Linked DNA regions of Homo sapiens: regions 1 and 2 are each linked to region 3. The links are contacts of gene promoters, found by promoter capture Hi-C in blood cells and fetal thymus (Javierre and others, 2016). All regions are on one chromosome and are shown on one strand. Each heading gives the region's core, a stretch centred on a gene start or on the middle of the fragment in contact. The rest is flanking DNA. Distances are from core to core; before and after follow the strand shown.

Region 1 (3,410 bases), core at 516-3,015, 120 kb before region 3:
CGCCATTCTCCTGCCTCAGCCTCCCCAGCAGCTGGGACTACAGGTGCACACCACCACGCCTGGCTAATTTTTGTATTTTTAGTACAGATGGGGTTTCACTGTGTTTTAGTCGATCTCCTGACCTTGTGATCTGCCCGCCTCAGCCTCCCAAAGTGCTGGGATTACAGGCGTGAACCACCGCGCCCGGCCAATAATAATACTTTTAATTAGCCAGTCATGGTGGTGTACACCTGTAGTCCCAGCTACTCAGGAGGCAGAGGCAGGAGGGTTATGTGAACCCAGCAGTTTGAGGCTGCAGTGAACCATGATTGTGCCACTGTACTCCAGCCTGGGTGACAGAGCAAGATCCAACCTCCCCTCCGCACCAGGAAAAAAAAAAAAGGAAAGAAAGAAGACAGACTTGTGCCTCACAAGTGGTACTTTTGAGTTCCCACTCAAACTACTGTCTTTCGAGTAGGGCAAGACCACTTTCCATTGTGGTATCTTTGCAGCAGTGCCATTGTCCCTTATGGAACAGTGTCTCAGGACCCCGCTCCTGCTCCTTCTGCCGGCTCTGAGCAGGTGAGGACAGGGGACTGGGAAGGTCCCCTGCATCTGAGCCCGCCGGTGCTCAAGCATCTTTCTTGGCTGCCCAAGAACATTGTCTGCAGGACAATCCCAGCTCCTCAGCCTGCGTCTCTGGCCCTCCAGGTGCCCACTGCTTATGCTTCTCAGTCACATCCCTGGCCTGCCTGGGCTCAGGGCTGACTCTTACTCCAAGGGTGGGCAGCATGAAGCTGGAGCCATTTTGCAGCAGGAAGGATTCTGCCTACTAGGAGCCGAGGCCACACATGGGGGAAGGCAGGGTTCCTCTGCCGGAGCCCCTCCTGGTGTGATGAGGGAGGCAGGCACACAGAGAGGGAGTTAGAAGAATGGGGTTAGTGGGAAACTGAGGTCTGCCCCAGGCATGAGGAGGCAGTGAGGGCAGACTCCTAGCCCAGCAGGGAGAGGAGGTACTGAGAGCACCCAACCCTGAGTGAACAGCAGCTAGACCAGGCCGGGCAGATGGCCAGTCCCTCCTGCAGCGCACTCCAAAGTCTCAGGGAGCCAGGGAACAGGCAGAGCTGAGAAAACGTCCTGGAAACTCCACAGGAGCCCAGAGCCCACCATGTTCTCTGAGAGAAAGTCAGCACTGGGCACGCTGGACAGGGAAGCAGGGTCATGCTTGGAAAGGCCAACTCAGTCCTTGCCACCCACTGAGCACCCACTAGCTAGTTATTTGGTTTTGTTTTAAAAACTCAACTCATCACGAATACTCACCAAGATGCTTTGATCTAATTTCATGCCTCCACCTGGAGAGGGGGAACGATGAATTGACAGTCTCCCAGCCTGTCTTCCCCACCAGCCATCCAAGAACCCTGCCTGCCAGGATGCTGGTCCTGTGTCTGCCTGCCCCACGCCACCGTCACCTTGCAGAGAAACACTGATTGCCTTCACACATCTGGCTCCAGCCAACTCCCTCCTCTGCACACCTTGAGGCTCCCAGGCAGAGAGGAGGCTCTTCCCCAGGCCGGGGGCCCCCCTGGGAGGGTGTCCAATGTCATGCCAGCCAAGGCCCGTGTGGGCGTAGCTCCTGCAGGTTCTCAAGGTTGTAGCCCGCACCCTGCTCCTTGGTTTTGTGAAAGATCAAAATCAGGGCCTCACATAGAACTTTATATTCCAACGCTGCAAGTCTCAACACAAACCAATGTGTTGACTTGAAAATAAATATCACTAATAAAATGGAGAAGAGAGCTGGCATGGAAAGATTGGGAAAATGTCAAGAATTCTTGGTGCTGTATGTTTATCAGTAAATAAAGCACATCTGAGGGGTGAGGGGTCGGCCCTTGGACCTTGGGCTCTTACAGATGGGTGCCATTTTCAACAGCTTTGGAGACAAACATGGTGTTTGCCAATATCTTGGTTTTGCCAAGTCAAAGCTAACCAATATCAGCACTTCATCTAAGCAATTCCCACTAAGGAAAGGTATTTTCAACAACAACAAAAGAATATAAAGGATATAGTCTTGGGAAGGAAAAGGATATTTGTCTTGTTTTTCTTTGAGAAAAGAAATGAGCCTCTCAATGTTGCCCAGGCTGGAGTGCAGTGGTGCAATCACAGCTCGTTGTAGCCTTGACCTCCCAGGCCCAAGTGATCTTCACACCTCAGCCTCCTGAGTAGCTGGGACCACAGGCACGTGCTACCATGCTTGGCTAATTTTTTTTTTTTTTACTTTTTGTAGAGACGGGGTCTCATTATGTTGCCCAGGCTGGTCTCAAACTCCTGGCCTCAAGCAATCCTCCCGCCTCTGCCTCCCAAAGTGCTGGGATTACAGGTGTGAGCCACTATGCCTGGCCTGAAAAAAAAGGCTATTGCTTTTTTTTTTTCTTTTTGAGATGGACTCTCACTCTCGTTGCCCAGGCTGGAGTGCAATGGCGCAATCTTGGCTCACTGCAACCTCTGCCTCCAGGGTTCAAGCAATTCTGCCTCAGCCTCTCAAGTAGCTGGGATTACAGGCATGCACCACCACGCCCAGTTAATTTTTTGTATTTAGTAGAGACGGGTTTCACCATATTGGTCAGGCTGGTCTTGAACTCCTGTCTCAGGTGATCCACTTGCCTCAGCCTCCCTAGGTGCTAGGATTACAGGCCCACCATGCCCAGCCCAAGGCTCTTTCTTTTCTTTTCTTTTCTTTTTTTTTGAGACAGAGTCTCACTCTGTCGCCCAGGCTAATCTCCAGTCACTGCAACCTCCGCCTCCTGGGTTCAAGCGATTCTCCTGCCTCAGCCCCCAGAGTAGGTGGGACTACAGGCACGTGCCACCATGCGCAGCTAATTTTTGTATTTTTAGTAGAGATGGGGTTTCACCATGTTGGCCAGGCTAGTCTCGAACTCCTGGCCTCAGATGGTCCACCTGCCTCGGCCTCCCAAAGTGCTGGGATTACAGGCATGAGCCACCACGCCTGGCCCCGAGGTATTTCTTTAAATCAGCTAGTTGAAGTTCTATAGGAAACTCTTCACAATGTCAGTTTTTTGTTTTTTTGTTTTGTTTTGTTTTGTTTTTTTCACTTTGCTGCAGACCCAGAAAACTTTGTCAAACATGACCTGTCCCTTCCAGGAGATGAGGGACCATGGCCCAATCCCACGTTTTAGTGAAACCCAAGCAGAGCAATGCAATAGGGCAGCCCCCCTTCCACTCAGCTGCACAGGCTCCGGTTCAGATTGCCTTTCCTGGCTGGCAGGATGCTTTGGTGAAAGGCAGATAATAGGGTGGGACAGGGGATCACGGGCGGGAGACACGTAGGCACTGGGGCTGGTGTCTGCGAGGCATGAGGCCTGCCTGTCGGCTGTCCTGAGTGGAGAGACAGGACCGGGCAGTGGGCCGCCATAAAG
Region 2 (3,170 bases), core at 557-3,056, 93 kb before region 3:
ACACATTATGGGAAAGGCAAAACTATGAAGACAGTAAAAAGATGCGCCAGTGGTTGCCAGGGGCTCATGGGGAGGGAAAGAGGAATGAATAGGTGGAACACAGGGCATGTTTAGGGCAGTGAAACTATTCTGTATGGTACCGTAACGATGAATACATGTTATTAGGCATTTGTCAATACCCATAAAATGTACAACACAAAGAGTGAAAATGAAAACTGTGGGCTTCAGTTAGCAATAATATGTCAACATTGGCTCATCAGTGGCAACAAATGTACCTCACCAATGCAAGATGTTTGTTTGTTGTTTGTTTGTTTTGTGACGGAGGGGGTGCAGTGGCGCAATCTCGGCTCACTGCAAGCTCCGCCTCCCGGGTTCACGCCAATCTCCTGCTTCAGCCTCCGGAGTAGCTGGGACTACAGGCGCCCGCCACCACGCCCGGCTAATTTTTTGTATTTTTAGTAGAGACGGGGTTTCACCATGCTAGCCAGGATGGTCTTGATCTCCTGCTGTCGTGATCTGCCCGCCTCGGCCTCCCAAAGTGCTGGGATTACAGGCATGAGCCATCACGCCCGGCCACCAATGCAAGATGTTAATAACAGGGAAACTGTGGTGGGAGTGAGGTGGTATATGAGACCTCTCTGTACTTTCCACTCAATTTTTCTGTAAGCCCAAAACTTCTCTAAATAAGAAAGTTTATTAATTAAAAGTTACTTTTATAGTGTATCTATATCTAGGAATAAATCTGAAAAAGATATATAAGATCTCTACTCAGAAAACTGATTATGTTATTAAGAGAGCTTAAATATAGCCCAAATAAATAGATGGATATACTATGTTCATGGAAGGGACAGCTCAGTATTAGGAAGGTGTCAGTCATCTTAAGAAAAGCCTCATGTGTCACACAAGGGATACTGACATCTGACACCAAGCACATGTAGGCATCCTGACTACGTTTACTTGAATGATGTGGACTTTACAGAGCTGACTATAGACAGTTCAAATGGCCTGAAAACTGTTCAATGCACTCCCTCCCAGGCTGTCATGGGATGCACTTCAGGAACTTTACTTTTTAACAAGAAAATTCAGTTTTCCTCTTAAACAGCTGGCTTCTGTTCCATTAGCATTCTTGTCACTTTAAGTTGCATTCATCTTTGTTTTTTTTTTTTAGAAAAACATTTGTTCTGCAACCAGTCTTGTCCTTTAAATACTTGTACTGTATACAGGCTCTTTTTCATAGGTCCATTACTTAAAATGATGTAAGTGTGTTTTTGGTGGCAGGGGGGTGGGAGTTGTTTGTTTTGTTTTGTTGAGACACGGTCTTACTCTGTCACCCAGGCTGGAGTGCAGTGGTGTGATCTTGGCTCACTCCTGGCCTCAAGTGATCCACCCACCTCAGCCTCCTAAGTAGCTGGGACCACAGGTGTGTACCACCACACCCAGCTAATTTTTTTTTTTTTTTTTTTTTTTTTTTGTAGGGACGGGGTTTTGTCATATCACCCAGGCTGGTCTCAAACTCCTGGACTCAAGGGATCAGCCTGTCTCAGCCTCCCAAAGTGCTGGGATTACAGGTGTGAGCCACTGCACCGGTCCTGATTTGAGTTTTTGTAAGACAGGGAACAATGTTCAGAATTTAGCACCAATGTCAGACTCATTCTGTAAATTTTTATTGAACGTCTGCCTGGTGTAGGAGAGGAAGATGACAGACAAGAATTCTTCCTCCAAGAGTTACAGGTCAGTTGAGCAGAAAAGGCATACATCAATACCCACAATGAGAGTTGTCGTGATTCAGAGGAGGGACAAAGTCCTTCCCCTGGAGGGATCCTGAGCACTTTGGAGAGGAAAGGCATCTGTACTGCCCCCCAAATGTGTAGAATGGGATGCATTCCTGGCAGAAAGAAGTAGGATAAAGTACAGAGGCCAGGGCTGGGTGCAGTGGTTCACGCCTGTAATCCCAGCACTTTGGGAGGCCGAGACAGCAGATCACCTGAGGTCAGGAGTTCGAGACCAGCCTGGTCAACATGGCAAAACCCTCTCTCTACTAAAAATACAAAAATTAGCCAGGCACAATGGCAGGTACCTGTAATCCCAGCTACTTGGGAGGCTGAGGCAGGAGAATTGCTTGAGCCCAGGAGGCAGAGATCGCAGTGAGCCAAGACTGCGCCACTGCACTCCAGCCTGGGCAACAGAGCAAGACTCTGTCTCATAAAAAAAGAAAAAAAAAAAGTACAGAGTCCAGGAAGCCTGGGGTGGGGCTGGCAGATGCCGAGTCATCTATTTTGGCCAGAGTTCAAGGCTTGCTAGGGGACATGAAGAGAAGATTCGTGCATTCTAGTTCAAACTCCACCAGATATTTGAGCTCCTTCTCTGTACCAGGCATTGTTCTAAGATACGTAAGTGAACAAAACCCATGACACCCTCGTCTATGAGAGCTGATCCTCTGGCAGGGACAGACAGGTCATGAGTGGAGTGATGGAGCAGCTGGCCTGGTGACTTAGCCGCCTTCAGGTACAGTAGGAGGAGCAAGCCCAGGACAGGTGAGTGGGTCAAGGGTGCCAGAAGGGGTGAGGGCACCAGGAAGCTGGTCCAGTTTGGCTTCCCTGAGGTGGTGACCAGGACCTAGCATCTGAGGAAGGGCTGGAAGCAGGTGAGAGCAGGTGGAGCAGACATCAGGATGGGAGCATCCTGACAGGGAGGGCAGCAGGGTGGGCTCATGAGAGGAACAGCCAGGAAGTGTGACTCGAGCAGTGTCCTGGAGAGGAGGAGGAGGAGAAAGAGGTCAGGAGGTCCCAGGGGAGAGGCAGGACCAGTCTCGTGGAGGTCGGGGCCGTTGTGAGGACTCTGGTTTGTGTTGTGTGTGAAAGGCCATGGGATGGGGACCAGCGAGGGCTTCTTAGGGGACTGGATATGCTCTGATCTAGCTGCTAAAAAGCCCCCTTGGGCAGCTTGCAGGGCCCGGGCAGAAGCTATAGGTGGTTCTGAGGTTTGCAGAGGGGCCTGAAGGGGTGGGGCCCGGCCAAGCAAGGTGGCTAAGTGGGAAAGGCTCCACCGCGTTGGGTGTAGGAAGACCTTGACCTTAGCTCCAGCCCAGCCACTGAGCAGCCGTGTCGCCTTGGGTGATACCTGTCCCTGGTCGGTTTCCCTACCTGTGAATCTGGGTACTTGGAAGCCAT
Region 3 (3,225 bases), core at 661-3,160:
GGGTACTGTGGACTGAGGCCCCAAGTACAGGATGGTCCCCAGGGTGTTCTCTTTTACTGAACTGATTTCACCAACACTGTGCAAATCAGAAACAATTATTTTATATGTAAGAGGGACGTGCTTATCCCTAAAATTACTACACTGGACAACAAATTTAGTAATAAGTGCAATTCCTTTAGCTGGATTAATTTTGCATTCTCCGATCTGAGGGCCATGGTTAATAATAAAAGAATGCCTGAAGACCGAGGTCACTCCACTCCAACATGCTAGATACAGAGAAATCGAAAACTCAGCTTCCAAAAAATGCCGAAAAGCAAAAGCTTTTATAGACAGATAAGCACCATTCCTTCCTGTTACAGTTTCCCCCATCCAATCAAATAGCATCTCACCACCTGAAGAAGACAAAATTGACCATTTATAGAAATCACGGCTTGCACAATTTGTGCAATTTAGGAACAAAGAAAATCTATCAGAGACAATGAAGTTTCTCTCACAATTTTCGATACATGTGATGTGTGCTATGGCTTTTGGTCCTTGGAGCACGTGGACCCTCTTATCAGAAAACGCTGTCCTAGAGTCCTTCCGAATCACCATTCTGAAGAAATACACGTGGTCGCCTTTAAGTGTTTCTGGCAAAAGTGTCAGTACAGGGCCCGAGGCCCAGGGCCATTTCAGATTGGCCTGCTCGGGGTGACAGACTTCCTTGCTCCCCAGGATTATTCGATCCCCACCGTAGTTTCTGGGATCTGTGGTACAGTACCAAAAGAACTGGAGTCCCTGTAACGGGCTGTCCGCATCTGGGTCCGAGGACGTGGACCCGTCCAGAATCAGCTGCTCTGTGAAATTAGCTGTTATGTTGGCATCGCCAAGCATCACCGCCTGCAGGGAACTCCTGACGATCCAGACATAGACGGCGTCCGAGTCTTTCACCTCGGGCATCTTGGGGTTCCCTGTGGTGATGGACACCGTGAAATTAAACACATACACTCCCCACTGTAACGAATTATTGGGGATGTGAATGAACAAGGGGCTGTTCCTGATCTCGAGCTGGGGCAGATCCAAGGGCTGCGTCCAGTCGGGCGCCTGACCCACGGCGGGCACGGAGAACACCTGCCAGTACTGGGCGATGGCGCGCGCGGCCGGGCAGTCCAGCTGCACCGAGGCGTTGATGGTGGCCTCCGCCTGCATGCTCAGGCGCACGGGGGCGCCCTTCTGGTCCGTGTTGATCCTCACGCGCTGGATGACGCAGGCGTTTATCTGACAGGACACGGACGACTCGACGGCTCTGTGGCTGGACGAGTTGACGGCCTGCAACATCACGCGCGCGGGGCCGTCTGTGGGGCACTCGGTGCGGGCCACGAAGCCCTGCTGGGGCCGCGGGCCTGGCGCGGCGGAGCGCGGGGAGACGCGGGCCGCGGGGGAGGCCGGGCGGGCGGCGCCGGGTCCGAGCAGCCGCAGGCGGAAGGCCCAGGCCAGGCGCCCGGGCGAGCGCGGCAGCCGCACGGACCACGTCAGGGAGAGGCGGCCGCCGCGCGCGGAGAGCTGCAGGTCGACGAGCGCGAGCGCGGGCGCGGCCGGCCAGGGCAGGCGTTGGGCGCTGAGCAGGACGCGCAAGTCGAGGCAGTACCAGCGCCGCCCGGTCCCGCCATGGGGGAAGCAGAGGCTGCCGCGGCCGCTCAGGACAGCGCCGCCCGCCCGCACCGCGCTGGGCCGCAGACTGAGGAGGGCGCGGCCGCCGCGCACCCCGAGGCCCGGGGCGCCCCTGAGGAGGCCACCGGGCGCCCCGGAGACGGCGGCTTGTGCCCCGCGAGGAACCGGCGGCAGCGGGAGGCGGCCGACGCTCAGGCTCAGGCCCACGCCCAGAAGGAGGAGAGCGGGCCCAGGCCTCATGGCGCCGGCCCAGGAGAAGCTGGGAGAGGCCGCGAGGCGCGCCCAACCGCCACCGGGGTCGCGGGGATAGTGAGGGTCTTGGGGACAGTGGGGGTCTCGGGCGTCGAAGGGCGCTGGCAGAGGGGTCCCAGGGACAGAGTCCCAGAGAGCAGCTGGGACCTCGGAGCTTGGGGTCAGTCGGCACTGGGGACTTCTTGGGTACCTCTTCCCTCTCCGTCCCCAAGTGTGTGCAGGCCCAGGGTCAGGATGGCTCAGGAGGGCAGTTCAGCCCCGTGCAGACCACAGAGCTGACCACGGAGAAGGGGCTTCAGCAGGAACCCTTGGGAAAGCCAGTCACAAAATGGGAGATCAGGAGGGAACCGTGAGATCCCTGGGCGCCCAGGAAGGTCTGACTCTCGGTTTCTTACTTTGGGGTCGCTTTGCTCTTTTCTTTCTAGTTGGTTTGGGGGTTTTGTTTTTTGTTTGTTTGTTTGTTTGTTTGTTTTTTGAGACGGAGTCTCTGTCACCCAGGCTGGAGTGCAATGGCTTGACCTCAAGTGATCCACCCACCTCGGCCTCCCAAAGTGCTGGGATTACAGGCATGAGCCACTGTGCCTGGCCTCATTCTTTAACTCTGTCCATTTTTGCTGTATATTTTGGGACTTGATTGATGGATTGAATGATTTTAGAGACAGGGTCTTGCTCTGTTGCCCAGGCTGGAGTGCAATGGTGCAATCATAGCTGACTGTAACCTTGAACTCCTGGGCTCAAGGAATCCTCCTGCCTCAGCCTCCCATACTACAGGTCTACACCACTACACCTGACTGATTTATTTTTTATTTTTGTAGAGATGGTGTCTTGCTGTGTTTCACAGGCTGGTCTCAAACTCGTGGTCTTAATTGGCCCTCCCCTGTATTAGTCCGTTTTCATGCTGCTGATAAAGACATAACCAAGACTGGGAAGAAAAAGAGGTTTAATTGGACTTACAGTTCCATATGGCTGGGGAGGCCTCAGAATCATGGCAGGAGGCAAAAAGCACTTCTTGCATGGCAGTGGCAAGAGAAAATGAGGAAGACGCAAAAGCGGAAACCCCTGATAAAAGCATCAGATCTCCTGAGACTTATTCACTACCACAGAACAATATGGGGGAAACTGCCCCTGTGATTCAGTTATCTCCCACCCGGTCCCTCCCACAACATGTGGGAATTATGGGACTATAAGATGAGATTTGGGTGGGGACACAGAGCCAAACTATATCATTCCACCCCTGCCAAATCTCATCTCCTCACATTTCAAAACCAATCATGCCTTCCCAACAGTCCTCCAAAGTCTTAACTCATTTCACATTAACTCAAA

Evidence for each region. Contacts are between HindIII fragments. The CHiCAGO score rates a contact against its expected background, and 5 or more counts as called.
Region 1: a fragment that was not itself captured here is called in contact with the fragment with the promoter of PKDREJ in region 3 in 4 of 17 cell types (erythroblasts, megakaryocytes, endothelial precursors and 1 more); the score reaches 9.1 in erythroblasts.
Region 2: a fragment that was not itself captured here is called in contact with the fragment with the promoter of PKDREJ in region 3 in 1 of 17 cell types (erythroblasts); the score reaches 6.7 in erythroblasts.

Annotation. Positions count from the first base shown.
Region 1 is chr22:46,142,127-46,145,536 of GRCh38, forward strand. It overlaps LOC124905138 (a long non-coding RNA gene), which reads right to left and starts at 2,102. Exons shown (of 2, transcript XR_007068140.1): 1 at 1,300-2,102. The HindIII fragment of the contact is 4,128 bases long and covers 1-3,410 here.
Region 2 is chr22:46,168,959-46,172,128 of GRCh38, forward strand. All of the region lies in intron 2 of PPARA (peroxisome proliferator activated receptor alpha), which reads left to right. It overlaps LOC105373074 (a long non-coding RNA gene), which reads right to left. Exons shown (of 2, transcript XR_938315.3): 1 at 3,144-3,170. Among named protein-coding and RNA genes, the nearest start is that of PPARA, 20 kb to the left of the region's middle. The HindIII fragment of the contact is 5,560 bases long and covers 1-3,170 here.
Region 3 is chr22:46,261,433-46,264,657 of GRCh38, forward strand. PKDREJ (polycystin family receptor for egg jelly) reads right to left here and starts at 1,911. Exons shown (of 1, transcript NM_006071.2): 1 at 1-1,911. The coding sequence starts at 1,890. The HindIII fragment of the contact is 7,014 bases long and covers 319-3,225 here.